Regions from separate parts of the Homo sapiens genome. Here region 1 is linked to region 2. Evidence: promoter capture Hi-C in human tissues and cell types (Jung and others, 2019). All regions are on one chromosome and are shown on one strand. The core of a region is centred on a gene start or on the middle of the fragment in contact, and the rest is flanking DNA. Distances in the headings are between cores, read along the strand shown.

Region 1 (7,192 bases), core at 378-2,877, 40 kb before region 2:
AAAAATATTGGATGAGGTTTCATCACTAGCAATAAGCAAAGACCAATTATGATATAATATAGCTTGACATCTGTTATCAAAGTGGATGCCTCATAAGTAAGAAAGAAACATTTGGTTTGAAGGGGAAATAAAAACACACACAAAAATGTAAAACTGAATCCTGCATATAAGGTGAGACTTCTTGAATGATTTCTGGTATCAGAAGTCTTCCTTTACTCTAATCATTTGTTTTATTACTAGATCCTAATGAAGAGCCTTGTTCATATTGTCAGTCAGTATTGTTAAGCTCTGTTCTGTTCAAGAAATAAAATGGAGTATAAAATGCCTTAAGCACAAAGAAATATTTTTTCTTTTTAATCCAAATCAAAATCTTCACGTATTTTCACCGTTGCTGAGATGTAGTGTGTTTTTTTAATCCTAAATTTCTAACTGGGAATCAAGTGCCCACTTAAAGCATACTTTTATATATTATGTGAACATTTTAATCTTAATAAGTATTTAAAAGAGGCTTGTGTACTTAACCCACTCTCCTAAATACTTCACTAAAGTCGTTGGATAGAGTCATGAAAACAAATTGGTTTCCAGTGCACAGTTCTCTTTTAGTAATTTCTTTGTATTGCACATCTTCAGTTATTCATCAGCTGAAAGGGCAAAGAGTTACCACACAAAAGATCTCTAAGATCTTTAGTACACTGTTGGTATGATGGATGAACAAAGCTTTCATGGTCTGGAAGATTATTCTGTCTTCTTTCCTCTGCATTGTTTGGATATAAAGGTTTGCATAATTAGCTGGCAAGTTAAAGAGGAGATACGAGGCAATGTTTAGCCTCCTCCAACTTCAGAAAATGAATTGGGCTGAATACTAAATCATATTAAAGAAAATCAGAAACTTTTTCTTTCCCTTCCTTCCTTCTTTCCCTCCCTTCCTTCCTTCCCTCCTTCCCTCCTTCCTTCTTCCCTCCCTTCCTTCCTTCCCTCCTTCGTTCTTCCCTCCCTTCCTTCCTTCCCTCCTTCCCTCCTTCTTTCTTCCCTCCCTTCCTTCCTTCCCTCCTTCCCTTCCTTCCTTCCTTCCTTCCTCCCTCCTTCCTCCCTCCCTCCCCCCCTTCCTTCCTTCCTTCCTTCCTCCCTCCCTCCCTCCAGTCTCTCCTTTCTTCCTTCCTTCCTTCCTTTATTCTTCCCTTTTTCCCTTTATTCATTAGCTGGGCAAGTGCATCCAGATGTCTTCCCTAATTTCCAAATGTGAAGATGCATTATGTTTGTACCCATTTTCATCTTCCAGAGACAACAAAGCAACTGTTATCATTTGAATGCGATCATACGAATCCCAGAGGAGTGACAGCCTAATGATCTGTAGAAAGCTCAAATGTACTTTCAAATAATGGCACTAGAACACTTATTTTAATAAGGGGGCAGACTTTGCATTAATTATAGATAAGAAAATAATCTCAAACTTGAAACAAATTGGCTTCTTTTTTGAGTCTTCCAAATTCTATCGGTTTTGCTCTTATTCACGTCTGTTTGCTTTAGTCTGTGCCATAAAATTGATGGCAGCAAGCCCACAGTTTCAGGGATGAGTCTAGGAACTGCCAGAAAATGTCCTGGAAACTTAGTTTTGTAGTAGCATATACAAATCTTAAAATAGCTTGATTTTAAATGCATACTTAAATATTAGAAAAGACTTGGGAAATAATACTCCAAGAAAATTATACAAAAATTTAATTGTGATGTTTTTCTTTAATGGGTAGTTTCAGCATATCAAATAATTGTTCTTGAATTCAAAGTTATTGACTTTATATCACTATTCACTGGAGGTCCCAACATTTGACTAATCACCTCCATTAGACTTTAAGGCTCCGTAATAGCAGACAACATGTCTGTTTTTTTGACTCTTGTAGACTTGCATAGAGTCAGTGTCTGATAAAAGGCTGTTTGGTAAAGGTTTTACCTGAGTAAGTAAACCATTAGACTAATTGTATTAGAAAGAACCTTTAAAGTGATTAGAATTATACTGCATACACTTGAAACTACAGCGTATCCTTTCAAATGAAAAATCAAAGTGTGTGTCTGTGTGTGTGTGTGTGTAGGTGTATTTTCTCTTCTAAACAACTGGTGTGGATGTTGGCTAAGATATTTTGAGGTTGTTTGAGACCTGTTTCAGAGGTATATGAGTAAATTTAAGAAGAATATACTTTAAAAAACATTTATTAGAAATTTTGTATCTATTAGACACTGAACTGAGCACTTCTTATGCAAAAACTCAGTTAACATTCACTATAATTCTTTGAAAGAGGCAATTTTATTATTCAGATTATATAGATAAGGAAGCTGAGATTGTCCAATATCACACAACTTGAATGGCTGAGGTAGGTGAATTTTCAAATCTCAAAGCCTACAATGTCAAAAACATAAATCTGGTGTTTTAATGATTTCAACTAAGTACCTCAACATTAACATTAAAAAAATTGATATTACTGTTTCCTAATAAAAAGCAATTTTGCTGAGTGTTGTGGTGTGTGCTTATAATCCTAGCTACTTGGGAAGCTGGACTGAGTTAGAAGGATTTCTTGAGCCCTAGGTTTCTAGATATGCCTGGGCAACATAGTGAGCTCCCCATCTGAACAAAAAAAGAAGTAAGCAGTCTTCTCATGCAGTTTTTCTAAAACAAAACGAAACAAACAAACAAATAATAAAAAAAAACTAGAGTATATAGTTGCATACAGAGATACAAATGGAATATAAACAAATTTCATTCTCAATGATAGAATTACAAATAATACAGTTTTTAGGATAATATCTGTGGCTGTGGGTGACTAGCTCATCTCCTTATTTCTTTAGTACTTATTCAAAACATATCTATATCATCTGACAGATAACTTAGAAAACTTTGATAAATAAATCATTTTTCAACTTTTAAGTTAAAATATTTTTTCTATTTTATTTGAAATCTTTACAAAAATCCTATCCAATTTTCAAAATATTTTGTCTCTATTTAGCGTTGTGTTTCCTTCCAAATGGCACAGATTTCAACTTGGAATCATGAGAATATAATTGCCTTACATATTCTTCCTGCTTTAGAAAAGCTGTATGTTATTTTAGTTTAACTTCCTTTTATGAACCTACACTCCTGCCTAGCAGTGAATTTAGGTTAAAAATTTTAAGGTGTTGAACCTAGTATCATTTTATGTATTAATATACACAGTGTCTAATATGCAATGAGGGGATTTTAGGTAATGTAATGAATTTAGTGAAGCTAAAATTTTAAATATATCTATGTGTATTTAATTTTATTTGTATATCTACATAAAAGATGTTGTATATAGGGAAAGTAAGATGAAACAACCAAATGTGCCACATTAAGGTGCATAGACAGCAATGACACTGTTTATGGAGGAAGCTGTCAGCACAACAAATAAACATTGTAAGTCAGTTTTGTTACCATAAACATATATACAGACTCGAGCCTAAATCATGCTTAATGAATTTTTCAAAGTGAGCATTGAACATTGAATTTGTAATGATTAAAATGGTGATACACACAAAATAATCTTATTTCATTTTAATAATCGATTTCAGATACTTAAGTAATTGGTGAAAACCTTTAACCAAAATAATTTCAAATCTATATTAATATTAGAGAGGTAACAATAAAGATATGTGTGCTACCTACCATATAAAATGCCATATTTTTCCACAATTCTTTTTTCCCAATTATTTTACTGATCATTAGTAAGTTAAAAATATCCCATCCATATTTTCTACTATTTGAAAGTGTTACAATGTCCCATTTAGCCTTCAATTATTTCTCATGGAACTACTTTATTAGCGTGCAATTAGAAGTATTTTATAATCAAAGATTTCTATTCTTAAATTATTTCAGGTAACAATTTTCTGGGTATTTTTTCCTCCAAAATTTTTTTTCTGTTACTTGAATACTTTTTTTGAATCAAAAATAATATTAGGCCCTTTAAAAGAATTTCAAGTTATCTTGAAGTAATGTTGTCTAATCTTCCATTCAGTGTTTTATTCTCTTTAGTATATCTGCACAAAGCTATTCTAACTTCTGTTTTTTCACTTTTAATAATGGAATATGTGTCACAATCTGGACAAGGTCATTCCAATCCCTGACAACTTTATTCGTTACTAAATCTAGTTGGAAAAATAGACCTGCATTCAGGCCCTACTAGAATTCCAGGCCCCAGGGCTATTTTTATTTTTTTTCTCAAAGAGAAATATGTCTTTATTAATACCAAATATAATATTAAGCTCAAAAATATCCCCATAAATTTTACCCAGGGTTTCTCTGCTTTTCCTATAGAATAAATTTAAATTCTCCCTATGACATAATTTTAATTGTACTTGACACCAGATGTATTCACTACTGCTACTCTCTCTCTGTATATATAGACCTCAAGACTAAAGATAACCTCTTCATTGTGAAAAAATGAGATTACTCTTATCTGGAGAAATGGCATATGAGGGCTAGTTTTCTGTTGATTTTTTAAAAATCCACAATAAAGAAACTGAACTGACTTTTTTTCAGGAAGCTGTTTGTTAGTCAATAATTGAATTTTATTGCCTGACATGTGCCAGGAATGTGGGCAATGGATATAACAGTAAACAGAACCTGTAAGTCACTGATCTCTGAGATCCATCAGTTTAATGATTGGAGATTAATAATAAATAAATTGATTAATAGATATTAATTTATGTAGTAATATCATCTATGAAGAAAATATAAGCAGGATAACCAAATTTTTTTAATAATGTGGTAATTTGGAACTGGCTATTGAGTCATAGAAAGGAGTTCTCAGCTGAACTGAAGAAGGGTATTGAAAGCCAACCTTCCTTCCTGCCCTTCTTGGCTACAGCTTTCTAGCTTTTGCAAACAAACAGAAACGTGAGAAAGATGAACAGGCTGGACTTTACAGCTCTCATGCATGCTAAATATAGCACAAGCAATTCCTTCTAGACTCTTCTGAAATGACAGTGATGAATGTGATTTCTGAATGACTTGCTAATTGCAGCTAAGTCAGTCACAGGATTTTGTTTCTTCTGTCCAAGGCGGATGTGCCATAATGAAAACCGCAAGGATAATTATTTTATACTGAAAACTATTATTTAATAACTTATGATTTGCATGTACCTTGGAAACAATCTCATGACTGTCATTCAGAAATGTCTATCTGAGGGAATGCTGAAGAATCAGAAGCATCTTGTTTTATTAAATGTTATACTGCTTTACAATTACAGCTACAGAAATATTGTTATGATCAAATTTGTTTTTTGCATTTTATATAAATACATCATTATGAAATATGGAACAAAGCATATAATATACATTATAAAGATAAATAAATAGAAAGATTTTGAAATTAGAAATTTAAAAAAAGTATTTTTGGATGTTTACTTACTACACTGAGCATGGTAACTTTATAAGAAACATGAGAAGTATTCCTGCCAATAGTATATTTATCTTGTTTATGTTGACCTGGTATTCCAGAAACAAGTAAGACCTTACTACTTAAAGGTTGTAAAAAGTAAAAAGTCAAATGACCATTCAGATTCTGAGTTCCCAAGACATAAGCTCACCCAAATTTCTGTTCTCTATACACTATTTTGACAAATGTATCCGTTTTTGCCTCTCATTATTCTTATACATGGTGATTCATATCTGTCTCTCCACATTCTTTCATCCACAATATCTTGCTGGGGTCTAGTCATAATATTACACACACTGCATACACACCTATATTTAGCTATTGCCCACTTCTATTTTGCAGGACCACACTATATTAACCCTCACTGTCCCCAGCCCAAATATTTTATGTTCTGTAATTTCATTAATGTCCCCAACTTGCTTCCAGTGGCACATTACACTCTGAGGTGAGAACTGTATGCTGCATGGTTTGGAATCACCAGCTTTGCAACCAGAGTCTGCTACTAAAAGCTGGTTGAATTTGCATGAAGTTATTCAAATTATCAGAGCGTATTTATCCATTAATTTGCAATAAGTGATATCAAGGAGACCAAGTTGGTTGAGTATAGTGAGCAGAGAGATTATCTTATCAGAGATTGTCAAACAATTTGTCATATGGGCCCATTTAGATAATGATAAGAAATTTAGATTTTATTCAAGATAAAATTAAAAAATCACTGAAGAGTTATTATCCAGGCAGTGCTAAGATCTGGCTTATATTTTGAAAGGATTGCTCCAACATAGGGAGGAGAATAAACTGGAGAGAAAAGAGTAGGACCAGGGAGACTGGCTATTGTAGTAAACCAGAAAACATACCTTGGTGGCTCAGATTAGGCTTGTAGTTCTGAAAATGAGACCTAAGTTACTTGCAGATCCATTTTAAAGATCAAGCTGATAGAATTTGCTGATGTGGAATGGGGAAAAATTTTAAAAATAGGAAAATTTGTTTTTTTTTTTTTGTAATTGTAAATGGAGACATTTACAGAGATATACATTCATGAGCATTTACATGATGTTTAATGTCATAGAAATAAATGATTTTTTGTTTTGTTTTGTTTTTGTTTTGTTGTGTTTTTTGAGACGGAGTCTTGCTCTGTCGCTCAGGCTGGAGTACCGTGGCGCGATCTCGGCTCACTGCAAGCTCCGCCTCCCGGGTTCACGCCATTCTCCTGTCTCACCCTCCTGAGTAGCTGGGACTACAGGCGCCCACCACCAAGCCCGGCTAATTTTTCGTATTTTTAGTAGAGCCGGGGTTTCACCGTTTTAGCCTGGATGGTCTTGATCTCCTGACCTCGTGATCCACCCGCCTGCCTCCCAAAGTGCTGGGATTACAGGCGTGAGCCACCGCTCCGGCCAATAGATGATATTTTTTAAAGGAAGAGTACAGGAAAAGAGAAGAAAAGAGAAATAAGAACTGAGCTCTGGGAAGATTTAGGAGGTTGGGAAGGTGGGAAGAATCTACATAATAAATAATTAATCATATATTCAAAAAGTATTCATTGACTACCTAATATGTGCCTAATAATGTCGTAGGTACTGGGAATATAGTTGCAAACAAAATAAACGAAAAGTCCCATCTTTTTAGAGCTTACATGTTGGTGAAAGAGAGAAAGATGAGCAGGATCAATCCGTTAAGTAAATACATGCTAAGGAAAATTCTAAGTGTGTAGGAAGTTGTAATGAGTTTCTAACTCATTCTATTCACTTGCTTAATTC
Region 2 (6,416 bases), core at 1,569-4,068:
ATTCTAACATGCTACTCTGTAGTTTTGCCATTAAAAGACTTTAAAAATTTTGATATGTTTATCATGTAATTGAGCAATCGAAAGAGAAATAAATGAAAATAGAATAAAAATATTGAGTCTATATCTCAAAATTTTTATTAATGATTAGGATATTCAACAAAACATTATCGTTTTTCTTTTTTTTAATTTTATTATTATTATACTTTAAGTTTTAGGGTACATGTGCACAACGTGCAGGTTTGATCGTTTTTCTTTTAATAAATTCTGGTGCAATTGGATACTGTCTCACATGATTCTGAGAGAACATAGTAGCATAAACATTATCATAAAAATGGGGCACATTTTCACAAATACAGCTGTGTATCTGAATTTAGATCAATTTGCTTATCAAAATAGTATTTAATATTGGAAATAAAGACAGGAGTTTTTGTTTGGAATTCAGACCATTCTAGTTTTTGAGGAATTGAGTTTTTGAGGAATTTGAGTTTTTGAGGAACTGAGTTTTTGTTTGGAATTAAGAAAATTTACTGGCAATTTTTGAAAATGCTAAACTGTTATAACAATAACTTTCAAATAAAAAAGGTGACAAATCTTTTTTTGTATTTTTAATTCAATTTTGAAAGTACTATTAATATTCCCTAGCTGATTTTAACAAAAAATACTAAATGTTATACTATAAGATGTGAGTGTGATAAAATAATTTGTATAAAGAGCTATTTTTTGGGATACTTGAATATCAACCAGATTTTCAAAATAAGGGACAAGCCAAGAATTTTTAAAAGATGTTCAAGCAAATATTCAAAATATTTTCCCTGTGTATAATTTCCCTATCTTTTAAAAAGTTACAATTAAATAAATATTTATTTCTACTTGGAAATAAACCCTCTTAAAATGGTAGAGAAAGAGCCATCTAGATAATATTAATATGATCTAGAACAAGCTCTCTTAAATGTATTTGAAGAAATTGGAACAACGACGTCTTTATATCAAACTTAAAAAGCTTGTTTTGTTGCAGACTAAGTGAAGTGGGGAATTGAGGAAGTCTGATTATAAATAGACTACATCACTGTCTTTCAGGGATTCTTCAGCTATGCTTTAGGCATGTATACATATAGAAGACACTACATTAGATATAAGAAACTTAAGATGTTTTATCTGTCCTCAATTAGGAAGAACATTTGCAAACTTCATTGTGTGAATAATTTGAACATTTATTAGAGAGATTTCTTGAGTCTTCTCTGAAAATTAAATCTCCTCTTAGGTTGCTATCTATTCAATTACAATTCTCTTAACATCTGGGACCGTCTAATTTTGGTAAGAATGAGCAGATGCTGGCAAGAAACCATCGAAATGAAGATAATATTCAATGTAAATATATATTATACTTATCAAGAAATGACTCGAAGAAGGAACCAAATTTATAGATAAGATGTGACTTGTTTAGCTATTAGTAGCTTATGTTTTATAAAAATGAAATATGGAATACATCCCAAACATATTTTTACAATTAAAAAACTAGGACAATACAAACAAACAACAACAACAAAAAATTAGGAGAACAAAACAGAACTTTGATAACCCAATTAGAAATTTATTTGGCATCCAAAAGACTACTTTATTTTATATCCAGAGAAAATTCTGAAGATTTTTATTCAAATGTTAAAGTCACACTTTAAAAGCTCACGCTTATCCTTAAACAAAGTAACTACTTATATAAGTAAACTGTCATTGTATTTATTGTAACTATGAGATAGTTTATATTAAGGAAGGCATTACACAGACTAGTGACAGGAGCTCCTAATTGAGTTTATTATCATGAAATATATTCATAAAAATGTAGAAGACATACTCATAAAATAAAAATATATAATAAATAGAAATCATAAACAATGAAATCACATTTCAGTTTACTTTTAGTCATTCATAGATTTTATAATCCTTAATATTTAATTCCCTGGTTAAAGTGGAACTGATGTTATCAAAATAATAGTTTTACAAGATTATAGGATGAGCAGAAAGTACATTTGCTTACTATTTCTATAATAGTAAAATAATAGCAAATGTAAAATATTTTGCTACAATTTAAACAAACATATAAAAAGTGAACACAAAGGGCAAAGGGGACACGCTCATAAATCACTGTAAATCAAATTAGAAAACAGGTTTTGTTTTTATTTACATAAAATAAACAGACCTCTCATTTGCCAGTTGTTACTGTTAAAGTTTTAGGTGACAAAATGTTGATTGAGAAAAGTATTTTGTTCAGGAAAAAGTAAGTTAACTACTAACTTTATCCCATTTAAAAAGAAAAAAAAAGGAAGACTAATCAAAGATTACTTTTACAGAGAGATTCAATAAACAATGCATTTAAGGGTAAGCCAGTATGAAATGTTTTTTCTTAGGAAACTCACTAAGAATATATATCACAGTGATTCCACACGTGCTATGGTCCTTTATACAGAGTTGAATAAATTCATTATTTTCTCAGCAGTTAAATAAACAAAGTCTGCGTTCCCTGAATAATAGGAAGATTTGATGCATGTGCCTGCTGGCTCACTTCCTCTGTCCCATTTGCAAGCTTCAGTAACTGTTCCCCACAGAGCACCAAAGGGACACAACAAACACATGAAGAGATCACTCTCATCCCACAGAATGAGCTTTACAGTAACTTGGATCTCTACACGAAGGTGTAAATTCAGAGCAACTTACCCGATTCTCTGCAACAAAGATGGCAAAGTTTGCAAGGAGTGAAAATCATGTAATACTTCGGGGAAATGCAGGATGCAGCTGCTGCTCCAGCCTGTAAATTGGACTGCACTGACATTCAGTGTTACTGAATGTAACAATCAACTGTTACTGACAAAGCTCGCGAGAGTTGGCAGCAGCAACTTGAAATCTGTTCAGAGGCTAATGGTATAAATGCAATAGTGATTCATTTACAGAAGTATTACAGGATTCATGCTTTACAATTGCAGGTAGTCTTCTAAGAATGAAGAAAAAAAGCATAGAAGATTCTTTAACTAAAATAATCTGAAATGTAACAGAAAATGCATGTTTCTTTTAACTCTAAACTTTAAAAAAATTTTCCTTTTTTTAAGAATATACATATTTCCTATGCTTGTCTTAAGATTTAAAGACGTATACATCATTCTAAAGTAGTGCTATTATTGAAATCCATTATAGCTTCAATCTGTGCTAATTATATAGTTAGAGAAGATAGTAATATAGAAAATAAGAAACACAATGCTCTAGATATAAGCTATGCAAATCAAAAACTTAGTTCTATTAACTGAATGGATGTCTCTGATATGTATCTCCTTTCAACCCCCACACTTCAACACTTATTTAAGTCATACAAATTTCAGCATTGGTAATTTCCTATTCAGAAGACCCTGCAGGCAGTCATACATGATGAGAAGCCACAATTTTCTGGTCAAGACAGGAAAAATAAAATGAATAACCTTCACCAAACTCTATAAAAGAGACACATTTGTCAACTTGCAGTGCACATGCTCTGGAGAATATATTTATGTCTTTGGCGCTTATCTTTCTTGAAATGATGTTCAGGAAAATAATTTTTTAAAAAACCTTTGATAAACTCCTTAATCCCTATCTTCTCAATGCAATATATTCTTAATCTTCTGTAAGTGATAGCTTTCACTTTTGAATCTCTTACTTGTGGGCTTTCTATGGACTAAACAGAAGGCATGTATTAATATTTGCAGGTGAGCACTTTTTTGCCTTTTAATAGAGTGTTAAATTTTCAAACAAGCAAATATAATTAGCATTTGTTGTAATTCTACCTTATGCCAGTCATTATAATTGACAATTTATATTAAATATTTTATATTATTTCAGCAAATATGAGAGTTAATATTATTAACCACCTCATCAGATGAGAAAGCTAAGGTTTCTACAAATCAGAAGCTTACTATATTTCTTACCACTAGTAGCTGTTGGAAAACAGAATTTTAATCTGTATTATTCTGTTATTTTATGTCAACTGCTTCCAAGAGAATAACCATTTTGGTCTTTTAAAATTATCTTTTCTGTGAAAATTGCTACTTAGGCAGTGTTAATTCAATGATAAATATCATGATCACAATAATTTATAATGTATTTAGAATATAGTTTATGTAATAACAAGTTAGTTACACAAAAGGTACAGAATACATAATCTATCTGAAAAGGAGAAAAAGGAGGTGGAGCACAGTGGTTCATGACTGTAATCCCAACATTTTAGGAGGCCTAAGTGGGCGGATTGCTTCAGTCTGGGAGTTCAAGACAAGTCTGGACAACATAGCAAAACTCAATTTCTGCAAGAAAATGGGTCAGACATGGTGGTGCAAGCCTACATTCCCAGTTACTTGGGAGGTAGCTGAGGTAAGAGTATCACCTGAGCCTAGGAGGTCGAGGCTGCAAGCCACGATTGTGCCACTGCACTTCATCGTGGGTGACAGAGTGAGATCCTGTCTCAAAAAAAAATTAATCAATAAATCAATAAAAGCAGGAAAAGGCTTTTTAAATGGAAGTATATTGACAAATTTGCAATGGTTTTTATAGTGATGGCATTTCTGTTTAAAATATAGTAAATCTGATGTTCCACATGAGAGTTCATGGGTTCAATATACATGATTTTTAAAAATCCAAATGTCAAAATTCTTCTCTCCAACCCAAGTCCACTGCATTGTTTCCTGTGCTAGCATAAGGTCAGCCTATCAAACGCGGCAATTATTAAGGAATATTTTGTGACGTTAGTGAATTCAGCAAAGCATTTTACATGCTTCCTGCATCTACTCACTGCTAGGTAAAATATGTCACATATATACACATATTTCATTTTCATCTTTAAACAGGAAGCCAAACAATAAAATAATTGGTTTCAAGCAGATCTTTATCTTTAACGCATGTTTAAACTGGCTAACTAGCAACATCAACTGATTACACAAGTTGGCAATTTTTCTTCTTCTCAATGTCTTTACTTCAAAGAACCACCTTCTGTTACTGTCCCTGTAGTTCTTTTCCTCGCATGATTTCACAGCTATGCCACATTAGTTCATTCATTATTTTAGTGCACCTCTAAAGCATTTATTCTTCCTGTCTTGAGAGTTTCTTCCTTGTGGCTCAACTTACAGCAGCTGCTTTGCTTCTGTGGTGTCATCATTTTCTCACACTCATCCAGCGGAAGGATGTAGGTCACACACAGTGAGCTTGTTTCAGGGTTAGTAGGGAAGCACTATTCCATTACATCACAGCATGGATGGTTAATGATCCTGCTGTTAAATGTTGAGTATGCCTTGTAAGCGACACTGATGAAATACCACAAGACACTTGACACGGCATTAACACTGCGCACATTTTGCAACCATATATGCTGAAGCTTGGGCAGGACAATCATTATGGTTTTGGCTCTATGATCACTTTCAGTTAGCCAGTCACAGTGGTTTTTTGCTTTTAAGGTCCCATTGTAACTCAGTTACCACTGTTTTCTAGATAGCAGCATTCAGTAAGATTTGAGATGGTGTGAAAAACATTAATCCTGTATTATACATTAGTTTTCCTTAGGCATACTGATGCCAAAAAAGTGCTCTAAACTTATATTAATTTTATTCATTTTTTTTACAATAGCACTGCATTCTCTGAAATGAATATGGATAACAAAGAAAAGTATATATAAGTATAGATAGATAGATAGATAGATAGATAGATAGATAGATAGATAGATAGATAGATTTTTTTTTTTTTTTCCTGAGATGGAGTCTCACTCTGTCGCCCAGGCTGGAGTGCAGTGGCAGGATCTCGGCTCACTGCAACCTCTGCCTCCTGGGTTCAAGCAATTTTCCTGCCTCAGCCTCCTGAGTAGCTGGGATTACAGGCACCCACCACCAAATCTGGCTAATTTTTGTATTTTTAGTAGACACAGGATTTCACTATGTTGGCCAGGCTGGTCTCGAATTCCTGACCTCAGGTGCTCCACCAACCTCGGCCTCCCAAAGTGCTGGGATTATAGGTGTGAGCTACTGCATCCAGCCCAGAAAAGTATATTTCTACATTTTACATATCACAGAGAATGAAAAGACCATTTTGTATATTCCAATCAATTTTTTAAAATATGTGTATGTGGTTATAGTTACATAGATAAATATAGTGGTAGTCAAATGGCTTATCATCATTCTTCTTGCTTTTTATCTTATGATATTAATTTCCTATTAAAATATTTTGATTACTGTGTGATATATTATCATATGGGCATATTATGGTTCATTGTATCTCTTGTTACTTATATGATGATAATAATAATTTTAGGTAATAAATATTATTTGAAAGCACTATTCTATCCACTTTGAATACATGAATTCATTTAAAACTCATGACTACCTTTAAAATAAGCACTATTATTAACCTTATTTTACATT

The links. Contacts are between HindIII fragments. The study calls those that stand out against the background at their distance.
Region 1: a contact is called between a fragment that was not itself captured here and the fragment with the promoter of BCHE in region 2, in 2 of the 25 tissues and cell types used here (bladder and hippocampus).

Annotation. Positions count from the first base shown.
Region 1 is chr3:165,796,207-165,803,398 of GRCh38, forward strand. The region is part of intron 2 of BCHE (butyrylcholinesterase); the gene reads right to left. Among named protein-coding and RNA genes, the nearest start is that of BCHE, 38 kb to the right of the region's middle. The HindIII fragment of the contact is 6,653 bases long and covers 1-4,954 here.
Region 2 is chr3:165,834,605-165,841,020 of GRCh38, forward strand. It overlaps BCHE (butyrylcholinesterase), which reads right to left and starts at 2,819. Exons shown (of 4, transcript NM_000055.4): 1 at 2,710-2,819. RefSeq lists an enhancer at 2,637-2,931. The HindIII fragment of the contact is 2,864 bases long and covers 1,790-4,653 here.